6 separate regions of the Homo sapiens genome follow, and all the other regions are linked to region 4. The links are contacts of gene promoters, found by promoter capture Hi-C in blood cells and fetal thymus (Javierre and others, 2016). All regions are on one chromosome and are shown on one strand. The core of a region is centred on a gene start or on the middle of the fragment in contact, and the rest is flanking DNA. Distances in the headings are between cores, read along the strand shown.

Evidence for each region. The method cuts DNA at HindIII sites, captures the fragments that hold promoters and counts their contacts. A CHiCAGO score of 5 or more calls a contact.
Region 1: the fragment with the promoter of ZNF621 here is called in contact with the fragment with the promoter of ACTR8 in region 4 in 2 of 17 cell types (total CD8 T cells and total CD4 T cells); the score reaches 7.1 in total CD8 T cells.
Region 2: a contact is called between a fragment that was not itself captured here and the fragment with the promoter of ACTR8 in region 4, in 2 of 17 cell types (total CD4 T cells and activated CD4 T cells). The highest score is 5.2, in total CD4 T cells.
Region 3: a contact is called between a fragment that was not itself captured here and the fragment with the promoter of ACTR8 in region 4, in 1 of 17 cell types (total CD4 T cells). The highest score is 5.5, in total CD4 T cells.
Region 5: a fragment that was not itself captured here is called in contact with the fragment with the promoter of ACTR8 in region 4 in 1 of 17 cell types (activated CD4 T cells); the score reaches 7.9 in activated CD4 T cells.
Region 6: a contact is called between a fragment that was not itself captured here and the fragment with the promoter of ACTR8 in region 4, in 1 of 17 cell types (total CD8 T cells). The highest score is 5.8, in total CD8 T cells.

What each region holds. Positions count from the first base shown.
Region 1 is chr3:40,523,645-40,526,442 of GRCh38, reverse strand. It overlaps ZNF621 (zinc finger protein 621), which reads right to left and starts at 1,483. Exons shown (of 5, transcript NM_198484.5): 1 at 1,169-1,483; 2 at 579-664. The coding sequence starts at 602. RefSeq lists enhancers at 1,002-1,141, 701-1,513, 1,792-1,881 and a silencer at 1,442-1,601. The HindIII fragment of the contact is 8,303 bases long and covers 1-2,482 here.
Region 2 is chr3:38,517,870-38,520,569 of GRCh38, reverse strand. The region is part of intron 5 of EXOG (exo/endonuclease G); the gene reads right to left. Among named protein-coding and RNA genes, the nearest start is that of EXOG, 23 kb to the right of the region's middle. The HindIII fragment of the contact is 592 bases long and covers 984-1,575 here.
Region 3 is chr3:39,398,038-39,400,788 of GRCh38, reverse strand. No RefSeq gene overlaps it. Among named protein-coding and RNA genes, the nearest start is that of RPSA, 7.3 kb to the left of the region's middle. The HindIII fragment of the contact is 499 bases long and covers 1,031-1,529 here.
Region 4 is chr3:53,880,610-53,883,401 of GRCh38, reverse strand. ACTR8 (actin related protein 8) reads left to right here and starts at 1,250. Exons shown (of 13, transcript NM_022899.5): 1 at 1,250-1,423. The coding sequence starts at 1,301. RefSeq lists silencers at 1,034-1,123, 1,514-1,623 and an enhancer at 1,284-1,363. The HindIII fragment of the contact is 9,111 bases long and covers 1-1,907 here.
Region 5 is chr3:41,199,925-41,202,624 of GRCh38, reverse strand. The region is part of intron 1 of CTNNB1 (catenin beta 1); the gene reads right to left. Among named protein-coding and RNA genes, the nearest start is that of CTNNB1, 1.8 kb to the right of the region's middle. RefSeq lists enhancers at 2,250-2,359, 2,471-2,700. The HindIII fragment of the contact is 826 bases long and covers 1,021-1,846 here.
Region 6 is chr3:69,081,509-69,084,208 of GRCh38, reverse strand. No RefSeq gene overlaps it. Among named protein-coding and RNA genes, the nearest start is that of ARL6IP5, 2.1 kb to the left of the region's middle. RefSeq lists enhancers at 1,109-1,268, 2,073-2,132. The HindIII fragment of the contact is 2,467 bases long and covers 119-2,585 here.

The sequences.
Region 1 (2,798 bases), core at 234-2,733, about 13 Mb after region 4:
CCCAGCACTTTGGGAAGCCGAAGCGGGTGGATCACCTGAGCTCAGGAGTTCAAGACCAGCCTGGCCAACGTGGTGTAAACCCCGTCTCTACTAAAAATACAAAAATTAGCCACACGTGGCGGCGCACATCTGTAATCCCAGCTACTTAGGAGGCTGAGGTATGGGAATCACTTGAACCCAGGAGGCAGAGGCTGCAGTGAGCCGATATCATAGTGCCACTACACTCCAGCTTGGGCGACAGAGTGAGACTCCGTCTCACAAAAAATGAGTCTGATTTCAGTAGGTGACTTTCATTTCTAGAACACGATCTGGATTTCCACATTCAGAAAGAATTTCTTGGTATAGGTCCCCTTTCTTCCATTTAAATCTATACATCCAAACTCATCACTCTCTATACACAAAACTTTCATTTCCCCAGCACATATTTACATCTGCCATAGCCCTGGAGATAGATACAAAGGGGAAAACACAGCTTGGCCAAGTTAGGCCTTCCTCATCCTTTCCTGATTATCTGATAGCTAATGTGAGTAAAAAAACATAAACAAACAAACAAAAAAACTGAAAGAAGCTCAGCTCACCTGAGGCCAAGTTGTTTGGAGCATGGCGGATGTCCCCTGGCTTCATGCACTGTCTTCTGGGTTTGGACAAGCAAGATCCTCAAGAGCTAAGAGAAAAAGAGCCATGAGTGCTAAGGACCCTGTCGTCCACCACCTACAGCAACCTATGGCCCTCCCAGTTTCCACATTTCCAGCACTGGATGCACGGAGATTCTACTAGGACTCCCTCTAATTGTTCTCACGCTGATAGCCCCAAACTTCTTATGAATTGTTCTGCCTAGTCTTCAGGACAATCTTCCACCTGCCTGCTCAGTCCGAAGAGCTTTTTTTGAGCCCATTCGTACGGGTAAACTGAGGGACCCAAGAGCCCTGTCCCTATTGTGTTGGGTCTCTACAAACGTAAAGAGTCTTTACAGAATGCTTACAGGGACGATGACGTGGACCCAAAAGAAAGAACCTCAGGAGAAGAGGGACTGGGGTGGCTGAATGCGGATTAAGGGTAAAATACTCAGCGTCCCAGTGGGTGATGCTGACCGGAGACCCCACCCAACCGTGATCTTAACACTCCACCCAAGAAAACAGGCAACCCCAAACATCAGAAACGTCAGTACCGGGAGCCAGAGGCTGTCAGGGCAAGTTCTTTAGGGCAGAAAAGAGGATCAGGCCTCGGTGGCAAAGGGCTGGACACGGGCTCTAGAAGCCCGAGCAGCCACCTTGACGGCTTCGGCGAGGCCCAGATGCCCACGGTCCGGGTGAAGGAGGGGCGGGCCGCCATTGGGACCAAGTTCAGGGGTAGTGGGGGCTGACGAGCCGCCAGGGGCAGCGAGGAAGCCGGCACCGGGCGGACCTGGCACGTAGAACTCGCTGAAACCCACGCTCTGCAGAACGCCGAGGAGCTGGTCACTAACTAAAGGCCGAGCCGGAAGGGCGAGTGCACGCCCAGGGTCCCTCTAGGCCCCCGGAGGCCGCCATCTCGGTCGCCCCGTGGCCAGACCCGCCCCGCCTTTCATGGCTGGCCCCGCCCTGCGGAAGAGGCGAGGTTGCGGCGACCGGCTGGGCTGAGAGGCCGGCGGCGGGCGTGGAACTGTGGCGCTCTAAGCCCGGCTTTCTCCGGCAGCCGTCGGCATCGCCTCTGGCTGGAGTGTCACGGACTGATACAGCCTGGCTCTACCGAGACCTCGCCCTCTAGGCACAAGTGGGCCCCCAGTTCACGGGCTGCGCCTCAGCTGTTGGCCGCCTTGGCCCCGTGGCTCACCTGAAGCCTGGGCCGTGCAGGTGAGGGGAGAATGGCGCCTGCTTTGTCATCTCTAAGAGGCCCAAGCCCAGGATCTTGCTTGGGTCCTCAGCTGGGCAGTCCTCAGGGAAACCATGGTTTCCACTCGCCGTTTTAGCCCTCTCCCTTCCAAGGACCTAGATGTGCGTAGAACCTTTTAGGACAGATTCATTTAACAACCAAAACACCCGTGGCTACATACAGTTGCTAGGCATCCTGTATACACAGGACATGTCCTATATTAAATGATCTTGTCCTGTGTTGACTTTGGGAGGACACCCTAAATGTCTTATATTTAGCTTTTTCCAATAAATTACAAAAACTCGTAGTTACAGCTATTTTTCTGCTCAGTAACTGGCACTTAAATAAAATGTTAACACCAGCTGAAATATATATATCTCATACTTCCATAAATAATGATCTGGACAGACCTTTATGGTCTGTTCTGTTAGTTGGACTGCAGGAAGAAAAAACAGTGAAGAGGGGAGGCTGCTAATTAAAAGAACTTACTTTTCATATTCAGGAAAGGAAAAGACTGTTTTTTGACCAAAGTCCCAAGTCACTAACAAGTACTTGCCATTAATTTACATAATTTTAGATCAGTACACGTACTCTGAAAATCAACCAGTACACAACAGCCTCACTCCAAGCTTCTGAACATGAGCCAGTCAGTGATAAACACTTCCCGAAGCCAGCCAGTGGCAGCTCTACCCAGCTCATTGGCAAGTACCTCACTACTGTGCCCTTCCTTCTGGACAGGAGCCTTTCTCCAGTATCAAAGTGGTTGCTAAGATGGACAGACTTTGTTTTTTTTTTTTTTGCTTGTTTTTTGTTTGTTTGTTTTTTTGAGACGGAGTCTCGCTCTGTCGCCCAGGCTGGAGTGCAATGGCGCAATCTCGGCTCACTGCAAGCTCTGCCTTCTGGGTTCACGCCATTCTCCTTCCTCAGCCTCCCGAGTAGCTGGGACT
Region 2 (2,700 bases), core at 30-2,529, about 15 Mb after region 4:
AGGTCAGCAATGGGGTTTCAGGAGGAGAAAGCAACTTGGGCACAAATGATGTCTGTAACAAAGGACTCAAAGGCTTAACATAAACCAAGTCTAGTTAATCAGTGAGTCAGCAAACAACCCTTTTCATGTAAGATTTAGGTATAAAAATATTTTGCAAAGGAAACCCTTGCTGCTATTAAATTCCCAAGAAGCACTGAACTCTACTCAAGACTGTAGCAAAAATTGGAAGTCAACTGGGAGTTAACTAGAAAATACAATACATAAGCTGGCACTCATTCGCAACCTGAAGCTAGTTTTCTTATATACTGGCCTGAGCTTGTTTCCTTCCATCCAAGAGACAGAAATGACAATTTGCCACCACCACCTGTGCCACCCAGACCCAGAAGAGACCCAAAACAAACAATACCCATATTAAGCCTGCCATTTGTAAGGTCATACATACTGTAAATGTGCCTCCAATAAAATATTAAGCAGCATCAAGAGGAAAAAATATGTACCTGCTAGAATTAGATAGATATATTTGGTTACATTCCCCTGGTAAGACAAAAAAAGAAACTCCAAAAATAAAACTAGAGGGACAGATCAAGAGACCACGCCCTTAAAAAGTCATGCCGATCAAGTGAAAGAAAGAAACCATGGGAGTTTGATAAACAGGAAATCCGAACCTGAGGGGGGGAAGGAACATGAAAAGTGAGGGAGTCACAAAGTGTGGTAAAGTCAACAAGAATGTGGTCGCCCCCTGTGTTATCTATAGAGCCTCAGCAGATGCTTTTGTGGCAGCACAAACCCTGGAAGACGGTACTTCTCACACTGGGGTACCTGTTCCAGGCCAAAGGGTAGCAGCCTACTAAGTCACAGTAAAACAAGCACCCTCTTTCTAGGCTGTCAATGGTACTTGAAAATTTAGGGTGAGGGTAGGGAGACAACCAGTAAAATAATTTAACTTTCATTAAAACAAATAGATATGGAAATGAACAAAAGCTTTCCCTAAATATAAAGCAAGAGACTTAAAAAAAAATATTACTCCCATATCACTTCAAATGATGTCTCAAGACTCCTGAGGGCATTTTCAATTTCCTCCCCTTTAGGGTTAGTATAATGGAAGTTTGCAAAGTGCTGTTATAAAAGAACACAGATTGTTAAATATTTCTAACATTACCACCATCACTGAGTTCTAAAATCTGAAGCTCACTTTCTTGTCAGACCATTTATAATGTCCAAACCAGAATCTTCAGGTATGTTTCACTTGTCTGGAATCAACCTCTTCTTGAAACAGGAACATCAGAGAAAGCACAGGGATGACCTCAGCTATATAATAAAGGGGGTGATTCTGATTAGAACTGTCAGATGACTCACTTCTGATAAAATCACTGCTACGAATCTTCCCTTAGGCTCATATTCACTCAAGTTCTATGATGATGTGATCCTTTCCTACATATTCTAACAGACATTTCTGCCTGGCTATAAGGAATCCTCCTCTTGGCCCATTTTCTGTTATTTTTGCATGCTAGCAAGTATCACTTGTAACTCCTCTCTCCATCCACACCATCTTTTATTATCTGCTAACCTTAAGCTTTTGTATATGAACAGCACAGCAATTCATTTACTATAAACTTGAGCGCTTCAAAGAGTAACACTGTGAATGACTGGCAATTGTCAGACAGACCCATGTTTGGATACCCTCTTTGACAATTATAAGCTATATGCCTGAGACTTGATCCTTAAAGCCTTGATTTTCTTGTCTATAAAAGAAAATGGTCACTACTTTTTTTGTAAGGGTGTAGTGAAGATTGAATGAGATGCATATATAAAGCTACTTACATACTGCCTGGTATACCTGGCCCTCAAGAAATGCCAGTTCATTTGCTTTACTTCCCCCAAAGTAAAAACACATATATGCTTCATTGCCTGGACAGAAAACTAAATAAACCCTTTTATTGGGTACAACTTCCTAAAATAAGGTTCAGAGTATAGTTGTAAGCAAGCAGTAAATATTAAATGGCTAGATCTGAGAAAACAAAACACTTTCCAAGCACTCTGAATTGCCGTACGTAATTGCAAGACATTGCCTTGAAAGTGGGAATTCATGATTCAAATTATTCGTTGCTTGAGAGAAACAGACCAGTCTCCAGCACTGGGCAATGCTGTGTCCCCTTTCCCAGAATAATTAAAGGACATCATTTTATCTATATTTGTTTTATAATTAATTGCCTACTTTTCAAAGGCCCTGCTTGCTAGAAAATTATCTTGAAGTTCTTGCCTAAACTTTTTAGCTGGTCATTTGAAGTTTCTGCCACCAGGCCCCAAACTTTCCTTTTATTTTTGTCTCCTTCCCTACATGAACGCTCTAACTTAACTGTTTTCTCAGCATATATCCTATCGCTTCTCATCTCTTCACCTTGCCTAGGTAGACCTCCCACATCTCTATTTCTTAACCAAATTCTCCCAAGTTTATAGATACATGTGTGTGTGCATATATATAAAAATTTGGGCCCAATTAAATTCTTGGCAAGAATTTCAAGATAATTTTTCAAATTTATTTTACTAACAAACTATATTTTGCTTTCATCTAACAGATACACCAAAGATTTTTAGGTTTAAAATTCTACCTGAAATAAAGTTTGACTTGAAATATAATGCCAAAACTAATAAAAGCAGTATTATTATGGAGATATTTGTTAGTGAAAAACATAAATATAT
Region 3 (2,751 bases), core at 31-2,530, about 14 Mb after region 4:
CTGGGATCTGTCTCTAAAAGCTTCATAAAAGAAAAAGGAGGCCAGGCGTGGTGGCTCACACCTGTAATCCCAGCACTTTGAGAGGCCGAGGCAGGTGGATCACGAGGTCAGGAGATCGAGACCATCCTGGCTAACACAGTGAAACCCCATCTCTACTAAAAATAAAAAAAAATTACCCAGTCGTGGTGGCTGGCGCCTGTAGTCCCAGCTACTCGGGAAGCTGAGGCAGAAGAATGGCGTGAACCCAGGAGGCAGAGCTTGCAGTGAGCCGAGACTGCGCTACTGCACTCCAGCCTGGGTGACAGAGCGAGACTCCGTCTCAAAAAAAAAAAAAAGAAAAAAAAAAGAAAAAGGAGTGGCAGGAGCAGGGGACACAGTTAGGGGAGAGAAGCAAGTGTGGCAAAATCTTGGCAATTGCTCCATCTGAGCGATATGAATGAAGGGCCAGTAGACCATTGGCTTTCCTATTGTGATGGCTTGAAAGATTTCATAATCATGTATTCTTAGAAAGTGAGTGTAATACAGCTTGAAACCTTTGCTTCTGTGTCTTCTTTTGGCTTTAGCCCTACACTGCCTTATCTTTAGTCACCATCTGACTATTTTTCTCCCACAGAGCCCCACCTCTAATGTGCTTTAATAAGTCTAAGGCAGCCAAGAAGGAACCATTTAAAAAAAAAAAAAGGCCAATGTGGTGGCTCACACCTGTAATCCCAGCACTTTGGGAGGCCAAGGCGGATGGATCATGAGGTCAGGAGTTCGAGACCAGCCTGGCCAAGATGGTGAAACCTCGTTTCTACTAAAAAATACAAAAATTAGCCGGGCGCGGTGGCAGGTACCTGTAATCCCAGCTATTTGGGAGGCTGAGGCAGGAGAATCGCTTGAACCCGGGAGGCGGAGGTTGCAGCGAGCCAAGATCATACCACTGCACTCTAGCCTGGGCAACAGAGCAAGACTCTGTCTCAAAAAAAAAAAAAAGTGGGCAATGCTTCCAAAGCCAGCTAACGCTCACTAGCCAATTGCTTTCCAAGCTTTAATACTGAGACTGTGAGAGAGGAAAAAACAGGCTACTTGCCGCAGGACTCGAGATTCACAAAGACAAATTTTCTACCTCATGTTTAGAGAAAACTAGATGATTTCTCCTGATTTTATCATATTTATTTGCTCCCCTAAAAAACAAATGAAGAAAATGTGAGGGGGAATCTGGTGGCAGAAATTCATCTGCCAATGTGAGGCCAGGAAATTCGCATTGGGAAGAAGCCCAACTCTCTCGGCCTTATCTCTGCCCCTCCTCCCTAAGAGTCCTCACTGGCATTAGGTTCCCTGCACTCAGGATGAGGGTCAAAGGAGGCTGAGGAGGCAAGGGACATGGAACACCTACTCCAGAGTCTAAGTTCTTAGGAAGCAGCCACTCCATCCAACTGTCCCTCCCTTCTCTCCTTTCCCATCCTGACCTCTCCCCTGCTTCCTACAGCACGAGGCCTCACAACACACAGGTCACAGCATTGGAGGCTTGGGTGCCACTGTAAGCTTAGGACCCTGCTTCATCCTCTCCCACACCCCTACCCAAATTACTATTTTAAATATGGTGTTTTAACCTAAAGCCTAAAGTATAAACTGATTTTAACTTATACATCAGCTTAATCTGTGTTGTGGGTTGAATTGTGTCCCCCCAAAAGATATATTGGCGTTCTAACCCCTAATACCTGCGAATGTGACCCTATTTGGAAATAGGGTCTAACATAGAGAGAAACAGATACACAAGGGAAAAGGCATGTGAAGACAGGCAGAGATTAGAGTGATGTTTTTACAAGCCAAGGAATGCTAGCCACCACTAGAAGGTGCAACAGACAAAGCATGACTCTCCTAGAGCCTTCAGAGGTGCAATGCTGCTGACACATTGATTTCAGACTTCTGGCCTCCAGATTGAGTTATAAACCATTCTGACTGTGGTAACTTGTTGTGGCTGTCCTATGAAGCTAATACCACATTTCAGAAACATTTATTAATTAACCCTCACCACCACCTGAAGAGGCAGGAAACATTACTAACCCTATTTCCGGCTGGGGGCGCTGGCTCACACCCGTAATCCCAGCACTCTGGGAGGCTGAGGCAGGTGGATCACTTGAGATCAAGAGTTCAAGACAAGCCTGGCCAGCATGGTGAAACCCTGTCTCTACTAAAAATACAAAAAATTAGCCCAGCGTGTAGTCCCAGCTACTTGGAAGGCTGAGGTGGGAGAATTGCTTGAACCCAGGAGTGGAGGTTGCAGTCAGCTGAGATTGCACGATTGCACTCCAGCCTGGGCAACAGGGCGACACTTTGTTCTCCGCCCCCTAAAAAACCCCCAAAACAAACTAACCCCATTTCCTAGGCATAGTTTCAGTGCCATGCCTAGGTAGTGGAGAGCAAGCAGCTTTCAACCTGGGCTGCCTGGATTAGAGCCCATGTTCTTAACCACAAGACTAAATATCCCCCCAACTTGTGCTTCTTGTATAAAGTAATGGCTGTTTCCTGATTTTTTTTTTTCTGATATGGAGTCTCATTCTGTCATCCAGACTGGAGGGCAGTGGTGTGATCTGCAACCTGCATCTCCTGGGTTCAAGTGGTTCTCCTGCCTCAGCCTCCTGAGTAGCTAGAATTACAGGCGTGCCCCACGATGCCTGGCTAATTTTTGTATTTTTAGTAGAGATGGGGTTTTGCTGTTTTGGCCAGGCTGATCTTGAACTCCTGGCCTCAAGTAATCTGCCTGCC
Region 4 (2,792 bases), core at 1-2,500:
TAGTGTGGGAGACAGTGAGCAGGCATGATAATTACAGACTAATGCTTCATGCTTCAAAGGGAATAGGATGATGAGAGAATAACTGCGGAAGGCCTGAGGTGACATTTGAGTTCAGACGTGAGAATGAGACAGCTGAGGGAAGAGCATCCAAGGCAAAATGAACAGCAAGTGCAACAGCCCGATGACGGGAAGGGCTTGGCATGTCTGAGAAAGATAAAACAGGTGTAGCTGGAAATGCCAAGGAATGGGGAGAGTGTTGTGAGGTGAACTTAGAAATGTAGCAATAACTAGATATGGTCTTTAGGTGGTGGTTAGTTTAGATTCTGTTCTTTGAGCAAAGGGAAACCATTAGAGTTTAAAGCATGAGTGACATCTAATTTTTGAGGTAAGTCTTAGTGGAGTGCTGGGTACATAGTAGTATTAACTACGTAATATTTTAAAACAACGTGGGCAACTATATAAGAACAGATCATAGGGGGACAGGACAAGGAGTTCGAGTTAAGAGGCTGTTGTAGTCATCCAGGTGAGATGATAGTGGCTTGGGCTAGGTAGTGGCATGGGAATGGAGAAGTGGATGAATTCAAGATCTATTTTAGAGACTGCAGGATTTACTGATGGATTGGATGTAGAAGCTGTCAACAAGTGAAGAATCAAAATGACATTTACTGAGATGGTGAAAGTGAGAGGGGAGGGAATCAAGAGTTAAATTTTGGACATATTTAAGTTTGCAGTGCCTTGTAGACAATCCAGATGGAGAGACCAAGTAGGCACTGGTTATCAGTACGGATCTCTCTGAGCGGTTCATCCTGGATATATATATTTGGGAATCGTATTCATTGCTAAAGCCAGGAAACTGGATAGTCACCCAAGGAGTGTGCCTGGAAAAGACCTAACCCCAACATCAGAGGCTGGACTGAACATGAAGACATATGAGAAAAACTAAGAGTACATATGGTATCTGGGAAGCCAGGAGAAGAGATGCCTGTGAGGACGAAATAAGATGCGGGTTATCAGCCGACCCCCACTAGGCGCTCGAAAAGCTATGTGTACTATGTTGCTGGCATCTACACAGTCAGGACTAATCACAGCAACACCCACCCAATCAATCCGCATGCACACCCCGCCCCCAGCCCCTGCGCCGGGCAGCCCCACCCCCGCCTTTTCGGAGCCCTCTGGGGCGACTCCGCGGCGGCCATCTTGACTGTGGGCAGCCGGCCGTGCGCCTGCGCGGTGGCCCTTCCATCCCGGCAGTCGTGGCTGCAGCGCTGAGGCGAGAGGTTGGTGGGTGTCTCCGGCCATAATGACCCAGGCTGAGAAGGGTGATACGGAGAACGGAAAGGAGAAGGGCGGCGAGAAGGAGAAGGAGCAGCGCGGCGTGAAGCGGCCCATCGTGCCCGCGCTGGTGCCGGAGTCGCTGCAAGAGGTGCGGCTCTGGCTGGGTTGGAACTCTTTGCCCTTGCTTGGGTCCTCCGCTGCCAGGCAAGGGGCGGGAGGCGGCGGGAGGCTTCGAGTCCCCCTTGCAGGCCCCAGCCCCTGGTGGGGGGAGTGCGGAAGCGGTCGTTCTTTTCCGGGTGGTGGCGCGCCGGGACGCCGAGGGCTGGGAGGTGCGGAGCGCCAGGAGCCAGGCGGAGCCCCCGCAGGGACACCGCTCCGATCTCCCGCACGCCCCACCGTCTGGTTGTGTGCGCTCCTGCCCGGGCTCTGGCCTCAGCTTCCCCGACCATAAAACGACCACGGTGATAACCAGCCGCCTCGCAAGTTGCCGTGAGGGTTAAATGGTGGCAGATAGAGTTTAGGACCAGGCTGGCTCACTGGGAGCGTCAGCCTGTGCTTGTTAAGGGATAGTTTGGGGTCCAGGCTTTTTCCTTTGTTAAGGAAATCTCAGATAATGGAAGTCATTTCAAGCTTAAAAGCAAGGAAATGGTGGACATTTGTCTAAATATATATTAAGAGCTTGTGTATCAAAAACAACACTATTAGACCAAACTAAACTAACCAGAAAAAATTATTTGCAGTAGCGTGCCTGGCAGAGGACCTTAGATGTATACACATACACAAAACCTTACTGATCAGTAACTAAAACAGCATTCACGTAGGAAAACGGGCACAGGCAGTGTACAATTCACAGAAGAAATGAGGCATAAACTGCTCAGAAATTCATGTAGGACATCTCTGATCCAGCTTCCTTACCGGTAGATGGGTTAAGGATAATACCTAACTAGTAGGGCAGCTACTAGTTAGTTATCACTAGTATGACAGTGCCTGGCACACCGTAAGCCCAGAGTGGCCATTACTGTTGCACAGGCCTGGTTTCTCCATCTGTCTAGTTGAGAAGGCTGACTGGATGGTCTGTAAGGGCCTTGCCAGATCCTTCCCTCTAGGATTCTCCCACTCTGTGGGGGGTGATTAGGAGGAGAGAGGTCACACTTGGAGATAGGACAACAGGTATCAGAGCATGGCATGGAATGGGCTTGTGCAGAGGGCAGTATTGGGCACTCAAGCAAGTACCTCCTCCATCCCCGACAGTCAGGGAGGGTTTCTTCAAAGGAGGTGAGGTGACATCTGTTTAGAGTCCTGAAGGTGATTAGGAGCTAACCAGAGGGAGGAGGGAATCTCAGGGAAGAAGAACAGTGTGGAAGACACTTGTGCCAACAGAGGATGTGAAGTGTTGGAGGCCCAGCCAGTAGATTAGGATGTCTGGAGTTAAGGAAGGGGACTGAAGATCTTAGCAGGGGCCATATCATGAGGGTCGTGTAAGCCACAGAGTCTGACCTCTTGTGAAGGCAGTGGAT
Region 5 (2,700 bases), core at 184-2,683, about 13 Mb after region 4:
CTTCTCAATGAGAGTACAAGGAGGCAATGGCTACATACGATGGACAAACCAGAAGCCGCTCCTGGGCTATGTTTACTATTTACTTTTATGGTATAAAAATGTTCTCAGTCAAGCAGTTTCAACAATAGATACCACAGTTCCAATAAAAAGAGGGCTACAAGAAAACTAAGTTAACACATATTTTCAAAAACAATGTCACAAATCAACATGACACACTACAAAAGAGTTGCAAATACCTTTTGTTAGAAGTTTGTCCAGTTCTAAAAGCCTTCATCCTTTGTGCCCCGGGTTGGCAGTCAAGCATGCTTCCGACTAAGCTCAAAGTACAAACTTAAAACTTACCACCTACTCATCTACAATTATTGATTATCAGAAGCTAGGAAACCACAAGAGAAATAAAAATAATCTTGTAACAGGACAGATGTATTATTTCATTTCAATAACACTGAAGTTTCATTTGGCTAAATATACTTCTATAGTCTATTGCAGGAGATTTAATTTCACTGCTACTTATAACTACAAAATAATTATATTCAAACTTTTAATTCTCTACATCCCTAGTTTCAACAATACTTAGCATGCGCCTCTCCCCACCTCACCCTATAACAAAAACGAGTATCTGCAATAGTTTTGCTAACACATTTCAAAATACCCTTGGAGAAACTTGCCTCCTCGTTTTCTATCTTGGTGGTGGTGTTATTAAAACAAGCATACAGACCCTCATTTATGCCAATTTTTATTCCAGTCATTAACAGGAACAGTAAGCTCAGTCTGATAAATTTTAATACTGGAAATACACTTTTCTATATCATGTTGGTAAAAGAAATAATCAGATAACAGTTTAAAAAACCCCTCTTCCATACTCTGAAACCTGAACACTGTTAAATGCTTCATTTTTTTTTAATTAGCCACCTTATTTTTTTTTAAGTTGGTTTTTCCTGAAAACTTTTAAATGACTGTTCTGGTCTGTGGGAGACTCAGGACTCCACAGGACTCTAAAGTTACATGCTATACTAAGCTTTCTAGCACAGGTTTTTTATTTTTCCCCACCCCCAGGACTTCAAACTTGAATAGTCTCAGCATTCCTTTAATCCTACAGAATAGACTTCTGAAAGTTTTTCAAGTTACTGTTGCAATAATCTCAGGGCCTTGTCCTTGTACACGGCCTTCAGAACAAAGGTTAGGTCAAAGTAATGAATATTGGGCGCAAATTAACCAAATTTTGTCTGGTGTGAAAGGACATCCTCAAACCTTTAAGGGTACTTTTTTTTTAATCAGAGATTTTTCAAAGATTTAAATATAAAAGTAAAATAAATTCCGCACAGCCTTAGTTCAAACGAAAAGCCTCCAAAGTAGAAATTTATGTCAATAATTTAAGCAGAGAATAAACCAGCAGTATAACATAAATAACACTTGAGACTATATTTACTATTTCTTAGGATGAATACAAGTCAACACGAAGACATCTGAAGGTATTGAATGTTCGTTCACCAAGTGACAAATACTGAAATGGCTTCCTAAATTCCAGACAAACTACAACTTAGCGATCTGAAAAACATTAGCCTAGACTTTATGAAAGGAAATGCTGCCGTCTCTTCAAGTTGATGTCTAGCCTAAGCCACCATTATTCATGATACAAAGCTCTCATTTCACTAAAACCACTCCTCGATTTCCTTTTGCCGACCTCTGCATACCAGCAGCCTAGTCTTTCTTCATTCACCACTCACAAACTCGAGGGGTGGGGGGAAGACCACAGATGTCTGGAAGATACAAAGTAGGAGACAACGCTCCCTCCAAAAGGGAAGAGAACGAAGGCAACAACTACATACACCCAACTGCCAAAGCTTTCAAGCTTGGCAGATTCAGAAGCAGGCTATAGGAACTTAACTTCGAAAAGTCTCGGTTCAAAGTCCTCTCTCCAGACAAAACACTGAAAGAAGTTGCAATGCTTGAATTCCATTTGGCCAGCTTTGGAGCGAAGGAAAAATTCACTCCGCTGAAAAGAAAACGTGCTCTATAATTCAATTTTAGCTGCCATCAAACTATTTGAATAAATTTAAATTATTTCTACGAACAAAATTCTCGAAGCGGTCTGAGTCAGAGGCTGAATCCTGCAGTTCACTTGGTAAGAAACAGTAAGCCATCACCTTCGCCTTCCTCCACCCCCTTATTTCACCAGGGTCTCATACCCACTACCATAAATCCATAAGACTCCCAGTACATTATCCACTGCTTTCACTCACCTGCATAGTACGCTAAAATACAGGTGCAAGACATGGATTTTTTATGTGCTCACCCTACTGACGCATCGCACCCGCTGCACTTAGAGTTTAGTTGCTCTAAGGTTTAAAGTTGCTTCGATTCAAACTCACATAGCCAGGGCATTAAAAAAAATAATAACACTTCTATTCTTAAGAATGAAAGAGGAAATCTTAAGAGAAAGTCCACTGGTCCGATCCCCAGGACTGATGGGACTTAGGGTGGCGTCTCTGCCTCAGCGCCCGAACCCCAACTCGCCGCAAGAGCTGAGAAGGCGGAGCCCCCCGTCCCCACCCCGCCCCCCACCCAGGGCCCGGCGCATCCCGAGGCACCGGGTCCCTCCCCCAAACTCGGCCAAGGCCAGAGCCCCGGACGGAAACCACAGACCCCCACCCCCACCCCCACCCCGCCTGCCATCCGGGCTCCTGTACGCGCCCCCGC
Region 6 (2,700 bases), core at 103-2,602, about 15 Mb before region 4:
ATATTTGGTGACAGCTTTCACTGAGGGACCACAATATATTCATAGATAACGTGATGTTTTGTATCCCAGCCCAAAGACCTGGCAAAAGAAGTATTCGTTGTCAATTCTCTTCTAAGCTTCCAAGGGTCATCTTTTTTCAGTTAAGGGGCTGATTGGTACAATGCATGAGAAAAAAAGTAGTTTGTTTAATTGTATAATGTAATAGGTAGAATTCTAAGGTGAAGATTTCTAAGATAACAGAGTCTCTAAGCCCCTAAGTGGCTTAGACAAGGTGAATTCACTCTACTCAGATCACCAATTTTTGAAAACTTGGAAAGTAATGAAATATACTAATGCAAAGTCTAGAAAACATAATTTAATTTTCCTTATTAATTCAGAAGACAGTTAAGGAGCTTACAGCGACTCTAAGAAATTACTACTACTACTGTTGTTTAGGAAAATTTGGTGATTGCATGGAATTAGTGCTAAGATATATCTTATGTGCTGCTTTTTGAATAAAGTTTAAAATGTGAAAATATTCCTGAGTGCTCATGTTTTCTTGATTCTGGAAAAATGGGATGGTGTGAAGTCAGAGAAAGCAAAATTAGAGTCGCAGCTCCTTCCTCTCTGGCAGGTGACTTTGGAGAAACTACTTAATCTCTCCCAGCCTCGGTGTCTTCATGTGTAAAGTGGGGATAATGGAACATCTGCCATATAGACGAGGCTAAGTGAAGGAATGTATAGGAAATGCTTAGTGTATAATAAAGGTTCACAGTTATATGTTACTATTATTGTTATTAGCAATAGGATAGCCCACGATTCTTGTTTGCTATTAATAGTGCTTTAATCTGATTTGTTTTCTATGCTTTCATTATAAACATCTACTAACTTTTCTCTACCTTGCTCCAACTTTATTGTTGTGGATGTATCTGGGTAGGGGGAAAAGGTTGAGAATATTCAGTACAATGCCAGCAAGTATTTCGAGTTCTTTTGAGGCTCTGTGAAAGCACTGTGGGTTTTTTTTCTTTTCTTTTCTTTTTTTTTTTAAAGAGGAGAAAAATGTAATCCTGCTCTGCCTTCAAAACTTCTGCAATCCAGTGGAAACACTAGTTAAATATGAGACAGTAAGAGGAGTGCTAAATAGAGATGCACTGAGCCTCAGTGCTCAGTTACAGGAAGTCAGAGGGTGTGGAGGAATTCCCCAGGGCTTCAGAATGTCAAGAGGCAGCACTGTGGGCAAGCTGAGTAAATCATCTTGGTCAAGATGAGAGTGGGAACTCCAGTGGGGCCCCACACTGTTGGTGAGATTTATGAGTATTAGAAGCTGTAACTAAGAACTTTATCTTCCAACTGCTCAGAACTGCATGACCAAAAGCTGTCAAGAGTGTATTAGTAACAATATGATTACTCCTTGATCACAGGCAATTGATACCCAAGAAAGAATTAAACCTCTTTAGAGGTTTAAACATAAATAAATAAATTCTGAAAAGACAGAGAAAGCTGTTTATAGCATGATTCCCTTCTGTCTCCCTCCCAAAATGTTAACCCTGTCTCTCTCTTTGGGGTATGGGAGATTTTTTTTTTCTCTAAATATTTCTACCTTTGTTAAATTATTTTAAATAAAAATGAACATGTAATGAGTCATTACTTTTTTCCAGTAACTGTTTGAAATGCTATTAGTAGCAGCTCTTTGTTAGTGTTCATTCCGGGGAGGGAGGGGTCAGATTCACTGTAGAGGTCTTTCTGGAGCTTTAATTTATTATTATTTTTAGAGACAGGGTCTCACTATGTTGCCCAGGCTGGTTTTAAACTCCTGGGCTCAAACAGTCCTCCCACCTCAGCCTCCCAAGTAGCCGGGACTACAGGTGTGGGAAGCCGAGCCCTGCTTGATGGGGCTTTTATAATGGGACTGGTGTGTCTAGATAGGACCATTCAGACTATCTGTCTGTTTAAAAACCATAGCAGATAGTCTAATTGTTTATGATATGTTCCATTTGAAGTAAAATAAATCTGTTGAAGGTTTTGCTTGCATGTCTCTGTTGCTTTCATTCCTGGCAAGGGCAGATGGCTATTTCTAATCCGTCAATCAATCTAAGCCAGTGAGAGTGCCTGGTGTCGTTTATCAAAATACCACCATGGTGAGTCAGGCTGTTAGTCTCAAAGCAAGCAGATGCAGGGCCAGATACCTTTGCAGACTTCTTCATCGGCTAGCTGTACTCTATCCCTAGGCCTCAGTTTCCTCCCCTGTGAAATGGGTGAGACTGGACTAGGTGGCCTTTAAGGTGACTGCTGCTTTTCACTATCTGAGAGGGTTGCAATGCTCACTACCACTAATCAAAGGGTATCCAGTATTGTTGGGGGTTCAGGCTACAGGAGCCCATTTTGATAAGCACTGAGGTTAAATCCTCAGTGAAACCATCTGTGGAGTTGTCTGGGCAAGAAAAAGTAGTTTCATAGTTGACGCTGAGACATGTGATGCAGAAGGAGGCTGGTATCTCTTGATAGGGACTGTGAACTCTATTCCCACGCTCACTGCCTGGCATTGACTTTCAGCTCAGTGAATGCTATTGAACTGAACCTAATTGGGGGACCATAAAGGACAAGCTTTCCTTAAGGTTCACTGAAAACTAGGACAAGAGGAGGTTAAATATCACAGTGTAGTAACAGCAGCTACATTTACTGAGTACCCATCAGGCTTTATGTACTCCATTTCAGTGGCCC